Regions from separate parts of the Homo sapiens genome. Here region 1 is linked to region 2. Evidence: promoter capture Hi-C in 16 types of primary human blood cells and fetal thymus (Javierre and others, 2016). All regions are on one chromosome and are shown on one strand. The core of a region is centred on a gene start or on the middle of the fragment in contact, and the rest is flanking DNA. Distances in the headings are between cores, read along the strand shown.

Evidence for each region. Contacts are between HindIII fragments. The CHiCAGO score rates a contact against its expected background, and 5 or more counts as called.
Region 1: a fragment that was not itself captured here is called in contact with the fragment with the promoter of PHF20L1 in region 2 in 1 of 17 cell types (fetal thymus); the score reaches 6.6 in fetal thymus.

The regions. Positions count from the first base shown.
Region 1 is chr8:133,219,136-133,223,322 of GRCh38, reverse strand. CCN4 (cellular communication network factor 4) reads right to left here. Exons shown (of 5, transcript NM_003882.4): 3 at 2,482-2,742. Among named protein-coding and RNA genes, the nearest start is that of CCN4, 30 kb to the right of the region's middle. RefSeq lists an enhancer at 84-585. The HindIII fragment of the contact is 1,239 bases long and covers 875-2,113 here.
Region 2 is chr8:132,772,946-132,776,891 of GRCh38, reverse strand. PHF20L1 (PHD finger protein 20 like 1) reads right to left here and starts at 1,504. Exons shown (of 21, transcript NM_016018.5): 1 at 1,247-1,504. It also overlaps a transcript of TMEM71 not described here. RefSeq lists a silencer at 1,070-1,519 and an enhancer at 1,274-1,775. The HindIII fragment of the contact is 4,916 bases long and covers 1-2,391 here.

The DNA.
Region 1 (4,187 bases), core at 245-2,744, 450 kb before region 2:
GCTTTGGTTTTTGGGTCACCTCGGCTAGGCAGGGGCTCCGCTTGTGCTCGGTCAGAACAGGGTCACTGGGCCAGACACAATGGCAGACAGCTTCTGCCTCCCTGCTCCCCCCGTGACCCTCGTGTGGCCCTCCTGGGGAGGTGGTGGTGGGAGAGCTGCCTTGCTGCCCTGGGGCTGCTGGGGACAAAGCTTTCCTCCACGCCTCCTCCTATCCTCACAGGACTGCTTCTCCACCGAGCAATTTTGTCTCCTAGGGTGTATTTGGAAAGGTCTGGAGATGATTTTGGTTGTCACATCTCTGAGGGAGCGGGCGCTTCTGGCATCTAGTGGGTAGAGGCCAGGGATTAGATTGCTGGGATTTAGTAGTCATGCATTAGATTGCTACTAAACATCCTCCAGTGCACATGACAACCCCACCACAAAGAATTCCTTCATCCAAGATGTTGACAGTGCCGAGCTTGAGAAACCTGCCCCACACCGTCCCTGAGCAATCTTTAGCATATATAATTTTTTTTAAAAAAACTACCAATACTCTTAGAACTCCCACTCTATTGCCATTTTTCTACTGCTCTCTACTGCTTGCCTCGTAAGCACTTTCCTCTAGAAATGTCCTCATCTGCTGCCTGCCATGGCATCAGATGCTCCTGGTTTTCTTCATACATCCCAACCCTCCTCTCTGTTTCCCCATGCCTCCTCTTATTCTGCTCACCCTTCACATGTCAGCATTCCCAGACCTCTGCCTCAGGCCCCCTCTGTCTCACTGTGGATGTTACCCTCAGGCCATCCCAGCCATCACCACCAGCAGCTCCAAGCAGATGACTTCAGAGCTCTCCTATTTCGTCTCCTTCCTCCCCATAAAGAGAAACTGGAAGCTTCTCTTAAGATCCCGTGGGCAGGGCACTCTGCCTTAAACTCAGTCTGTTTCAAACAGAGTAGATCTCCCTTGGCCCAAATGTGCTCCTTCTCTTGTATTTGATCCTAGGCAATGACAAGCCCTGGGAGTCAGCCTCTGTCCCTCTTTCTTCTTCACCCCATGCATTAGATTGACATTAAGACCTTCAGTCTTACTCAAGCAATGCCTCTTGTGTCTGTTCCTTCTTCACTGCCTCTACTCCCACTGCCCTAGTTCAGATCCTCATTAGCCCATCCATCTATCCACCTACCCACCCATTCATCCATCCATCCATCCTCCATCCATCCATCCATTAATTGATCCATCCATCATTCACCTATTTGTCCGTCATCTATCCATCCAATCATCCATTTATTTATACATCTATCTACCTATTCATCCACCCATCCATTCAGTTCATCCATTCATCCATCCATCCATCCATTCATCCATCCATCTGTCCCCTCGTCTACTTATTTATACATCTATCCATCCATCCATCCATCCATCCTCCATCCATCCATTAATTGACCCATCCATCATTCACCTATTTGTCCATCATCTATCCATCCAATCATCCAATTTTTTATAAATCCATCTATCTATTCATCCATCTGTCCATTTATCAATTCATCCATCCATCCATTCATCCATCCACCTGTCCACTCATCTAGTTATTTATACATATATCCATCCATCCATCCATTCATACATTCATCTGTCTATTCATCTATCCACCCATCTACTCACCCATCTATCTATTTATACACCTATCCATCAATTCATCTATCCACTCATCAATCCACCCATCTATTCATACATCCATTTATCCATCCATCTATTAATCCACCCATTCATTCATCATCCTTCCATCCATCCATCATCCACCTATTCATCCGTCATCTATCCATCCACTCATCTATTTATACATTCATCTATTTATCCATCCATCTCTTCACCAATCCATCCATCCATCCATCCACCCGCCCATCTATCTATTCTTCATCCATCCATCTGCCCACCCATCAGTATGACAAACATTAATTGGATACCTGCTAAGTGTATGGCACTGGGCTAGATTCCAGTAAGCAGCAGTGAAACAATTGGGCCTGTCCCCACTCTTCTTTTCCAGGGCTTCCTCTTATCTGGTTTACCTGGCTGAAATCTCACCTGCCCACCCATCTTCATAGCAAGGGGGAAGCCCCAAATCATCATGAAGCTTCTACTAGACCCATCTCCTCTTGCTCATACCTCCTCTCCTCAGGTACCCACATACCTACCCTTCTTCCACCACCCATCCCTAACTCTTTAGTAGGATAATAATGGATTGCACTTTTAGGGCTTTGTTCTTTACAAAGCACTCCTCATTTTATGCTGGGAGGATCCCACAGGACAGACTAGACAGATGGGATTATTTCTGTTTTACAGATGGGGAAATAGGGTCTCAGGGGAGGTATGACTTTCTCAAGGTCACAAAGCTAGTAGGTAGTGGACTGGGGAATGAGTCATTCTATGGTGGTCAGAGTTCCAGGAGGGTCCACAACCCATTTGTAGGGTCCCACCCCCAGCCCACTCGGGCCCACACCCACCGAAGGCTCCTGTGTCACGGGGTGCGGTCTTGCGTGGCCTCTTGGCGTCGTCCTCACATACCCACTGCTCACAGCAGTGGCCAGGTATGCTCACGCGCCGCGGGTGGGGGCACCAGAGACGCGGGGGGCGCACTCGGAGGCACAGTGGTGTGCAGCCCACCGCGCCGTCGATGCACGTGCAGTTGTACTTGCAGTTAGGCTGGAAGGACTGGCCGTTGTTGTAGCGCACCCCATCCAGGACGCAGCCCACACCGACCACCTCTGCAAACACAGGTGGCCGGTCAGGCCCAGTGGCCTTGGTGCCCCTGGCTGGCCCAGCTGCCTTTATAGGGGCTCCATGTGGACCATGCCCCAATCCCGGGGATGGCTCCCAGCATGGAGGAGGAACAGAGGCACAAAGGCAAAGGCAGGGAGGTGTGAGAGTGCACAGGGCAGGGCTGAGTGTTTGGTGGAACTTCAGCAAAGGGAGTGCAGGAGTTCCTTTATAGCTTCAGCCAGCACCCAGGGAGTGGAAGGACGCAGCCTCCCGAGGGACTTGGCTGGTTTGCTCCCTGCAGGGTCCCCAGCACCAGGCACAAAGCCTGGTACTGACAAAGACCTGCCATTAGGGCTCATGGTTCTGAAGGTGACCGACTTGTAAAAAAAAAGCCAGAACACTTCGAAACACGTGTTCCATTCATTCCATACACATTCATGGAGCCTTCTATGTGCTGGGGACTCAATAGTGGACAAAACAGACAAAAGACATGCCCTCAAAGAGCTTATGCTGTGGAAAGGTCATATGGAATGTTGGCAGTTACAAGTGTCTGGGAGAAAAGTGGAGCAGGGAGGGGGAGTTGGGCGGGGGGAGACAGTTGCAAATTTATTAATAACCCTTTCCCTGTTTAGAAAAAAATGTTCAGCTAGCTGCCAGAGCTCATTTAATTTTACATAAACACACTTTTTGAGGTTAAAGCAAATCTGACTGATTTTCCATGTAAAAATAAAATATAAAAACTGTTTCTTGGAGTTCTTTCTAAACAGAACTAACATCAGAATTGTCTGAATCATCAGAATAATCTATTTCAGAAAAATCAGATTCATCAAGTGAATCCCAGCCAACTGTTGAAGAACAATTATGCATAGGAATGCTGGGTTTTCTAGGATTTGACATTTTCAGTGATCGAGAATTACTATATTTTGTAAATGGAAATACCACTCCTAAAAAAACACAATGCTGTAAATAGAATGATATCTTTTGTTTTTCAAAGTTGGTATTCTAGAATGATGTGAATAGAGTAACAAAAGTGAGATATTTTGTGGCAAAATTATTTTGGGGTAAATGCTGCAGCCTCTAGTGCTGCTGGTGAGTATTCTCAGCGCAACTGGGAATAGGGTTAAATCAGGTGGATGGGGAAGGCCTCACTGGGTGATGACGCTCAGCAAAGCCTGAAGGAGGTGAGGAAGGAAGCCCGCCCAGGGGTTGGGGGAGGAGCTTTCCAGGTAGGGAGGGGCCCACTTAAGTAAAAAGACCACAGGTGGGAGCAAGCCTGGGCTGTGGGAGAGGTCTGAGGAGGGGAGACAAGAAGGAAAAGGGAAGGAGAGGAGGTCCGAGAAGGCTTCCTTGTAGGCTCAGAGGAAGTGCAAAGCTGTTAGAGCCTAGCACATAGTAGGTGCTCAGTAAGCAACTGCTGAATGAATGATGAAAAGTATGCTTTGCAAGAACA
Region 2 (3,946 bases), core at 255-2,754:
TTTGAGATAACCTAATCAAAACATAACTCATAATTAAGAATGTAAATTGATTGTTATCAGGGGCGAGGAGAGATCCGTAAAATGTCTTTCGGTATTTGAGATCACTAATGACTATGTTCCCTACAGTTTAAAAAGAAAAAAAGAAACACACACACTTGTCATCTTTTATAATGGTTTTGTCACAATTCATAATAGACAAAATAGAACAACAAACATAAAATTCCAACTGCTCCCTCTTTTCTCTTTGAAAGAGTCTGATAGGTAAGGGAAAAAATAGCATCAATACTGGCCATGAAAATATGCGAACTCAAATACCCATGGTTGGAGGGGGAGAGTGGGTATCCTCCTGCTATGGTATAAGCAAATATTAGAGCATTAAAAAGTTAACAGGGAGCTTGCCCAGGGTGTAGCTGGTGCAAAAGAACAAATGTATGAATATTTTTAATAGAGGTCTTGTCAGTGCGCAACACGTAAGGCAGTTACTTAAATGTTTGTGTAGAAATCGAATCAACCTTTTCTGCTGTCTGTCACAGGAAGAATTCAGTAAGGGATAGTTCACAAGGTACACTAACATCTAGAATCAAACTTAGAGCCCATAATTAAGTGATGGATTGAATGAGTATAATCCCCCAGTGACACTTAGGGATGAAGTACCAGAAAAAAAACAAGATTTTCCTTTGTCTTAGGTTCGAAGAGGGAAGGATGAAGAGGGATTTGAATTAAGGAACTTTCATAAAGTAAGACAGTCTACTGGGAGTAAAACTTGAAGCAAAAACAAGGCAGAAAGCACGGAGAGGAGTAAAAACAGTAAGGAAAGGAGCAAAGAATGGCAAGAAATAGGACAGTGGAAGTTTTCGGAGATGACAAGTTAGAGGGAAGAAGAAATGAGCAAGAAGACATAGAGACCGACAATGTAAAGCAATGGTCAGAGAATGACCGCCAGGCCAAAAAAGGTGAGGAGGTGAGGCCAGACAGAGAGGGGGTGGCACGAGACAGGCAGGAAAGGCTGACAGGGCTGGCAGGGAGCTGGAGAAGCCTCCAGGTTTGACAGCCATCCGGCCCTCCGCAGGGGGGTAAGGAAGGGAGGGGAAGAGGGAGCTGCGGCGCCCAGACAATAGGGCCGGCGAGTTACGGGGAGGGAGGCGGGAGGGGAGCGGGCCGGAAAGAGAGACACCAGAATGGGGGCGTCCCGGGCGGCCCGGCGGGGGCCAGGCGGCCTGCCGGCTCAGCCGCCGCCGCCTCTTACCGACTCGGCCTCCTCTCTGCACAGCAGCCGGGCCGTCCGGGGCCGAGCTGGGGCACGAGCAGGGCGGCCAGCCCGGGCCTCTGCCTCTGCCTCCGCCCAGGCAGCGGCCGGGGAGGGAGCAGGAGCGGAGCGAGCTGGGGCCGCAGCGCCGGATCCGCCCAAGGTTTCGCGGGAGGGAGCTGGGTCCGAGCCCTCAAGCTCGCTCAGGGTCCGCTGCCATCGCCGCCGCCGCCGCCGCCTCCGCCGCCGGCCAGCCCTGACGCGACGCCGGGCCCCGGCGACGTCAGCCGCCCGCGACGTGCCGGAAGCGGGCCTGGCCTTGTCACGTGACTCACGAGGGTTGGGCCCGGGCCGCGCAGCCGATTGGCGGGCCGCCGTAGGAGGCGGGGCTTTGCGGTCGTTGACGGACCGCTAGCGGGCGGGGCTCTGGTTACTGGAGGAAAGAACGCGAGCTCTTGGTGCCTATTGGTAGTTGTGAAGTATTTGACCTTTGAGATTTGAGGACGAAGGGCATTGTTTATTATTCTTGATTCGTTGGGAACCACGTCACCAAAACCCCTTTACCCAGGACCCTTGGCAAACTTTTTCAAATGCATTACATGCTTTCTTAGATATCCATCCCACTCCACATCAAGAATAGAGCATGGTTACTACTACAAAATCAATAAACCTCCCTTGAATGGATGCTTTGTGATAGACACTAGGCTGTAAATATGTCACATGACAATCACAACTGTACAACTGTATTACAATTGTATTGCTTTCCAGTCTTGGAGATCTTTACAATACAAAGACGAATATTACTAAGATGTGTGTACGCGCGTGCTCAGGCACAGCTGAATAACCTTAACCTATGGCTACATTGATATCACTTCCCCAAGACTACACAGCTAATGATAGCAGAACTGCTTTTATCGAATACCTACCCTCCCAAACTTTACTAAGCACAGGAGACAGTATCCTTGCTGTGGGGAGAAACCAATAAGTGAACACATTGAAAATAATATTGAAATGAAACATCTTTTTTCTCTTGGTTTCCACTGTACCACTCTGGTTTTCAAGTGCAACGTTGCATACAAATGTCACTTATATTTATCTTGCTTCATAGTGTGGAGTTAAAATAGCAAAGTAACTCTCTTTAAGCTTCAGTTATAGTAAGATTTGGTAAATTAAACAATCATTCTTTTTTTATTCAACAAACATTCATTCAGCATCTACTAAGTCACTAATAGCTACTGAGCTAGACTGAGCATGGTGATACATAGAAAAGATATAAATAAGACAGTCTCTAGTGGATATTTGTTATAGAAAAGATATAAATAAGACAGTCTCTAGTGGATATTTGTTATCTTGTTTTTTGGTTGCCCAGCATCTCAACTCTCTTTCCATGTTTGAGAAATTTCTCATCATGGTTGCATTAGTTCAGAACACCAAATACTTGTAGCATCTTCCTTAGGACATGACAGGATTATACTTTCCACCCTCCTTAGAATTATGTATGGCTATTTGATTTGCTTTGGCTGATAAAATGTAATTAGAAGTGAGATTTGTCATGGCCAGTTGGTAATTTTTAATGCCAGCTCACCAAAGTTTCTGTCTCTGGCACAGTGTAAAGCACTGCTTGAGATGATAGCTGCTCTACCATCCAGGTTCTAGACAGATTATGATGAACCAAGGCCTCACTGATAATCTACAACTACTGTGTTGTATAAGGAAAAAAATAAATATTTATTATTTTAACTATGGAGATTTGGGTGCTGGATTGTTTGTTACATGGCATAATCCTACCCAAACTAAATGATACATCCACCTTATGAATCTTGGATGCAGAATCAACCTCCCACTAAATAAGATGAAAATATCAGAAACTCATGTTTCCAGTCTCCCTTGCAGCTAAAGTTCTAGCCTCAAGTAAAACTCTTTTACCAAGGACTTTGTATCAGAAGTTGCTAATGATGTTCAAAATAAGGAAACTTTTCTCCCACATCTGTGGCAGTACCAGTATTCAAGTTTCTGATGGTCAGCCTGGAGTTAAATCTTTCTGAACTCTGGCAGAACCCCTGCTGAATCACAAGCTAGTGACTGAGAAAAAATAAATATCTATTATTATACACCACTAAAAACTTGAGGTTATTTGCAATTTAAATAAAATACATACATAAAGAACAACAGATTCTGTCCATTCTCCCAACTATTTGTTGAGAATCCACCCTGGAAAGATGATTGTTCCATTTTAATTGGAACTTGACAATGGGTCTTCCAATAATGACACTTGAAAGAAAAAAATAAAATAAGGTCTTATGTAAATGATCCCTAGCTTCAGTGAATTGTATAGGCTTAGTAATCCTCTGTGGAGTTAATACCGTCCCCTAGAGGGCACTTTGGAAATGGAGGATGGTATTTTATTGTCTCAGGATTGGGGTAGGGCACTGCTACTATTTAGTGGGAAGGGACCAGGGCTGCTAGATATCCTGAAATGCACAGTGCAGTTCCATACCTTGAAGAATTGCCCCAGGTCATGCATGACTTCTAGATGTCCTTCCAGACATTCATGTAGGTGAAAAACCTGTTTATAATTGTCCCTGCCTAGAACTGCATTTCACATATAAGTATTTTTGGAAGGTTTTAATATACATTAAATTTTACAGGAATGAAGCAACTGTGTAATGTAAGGAAACACTGACCTTTTTTCTGAACATT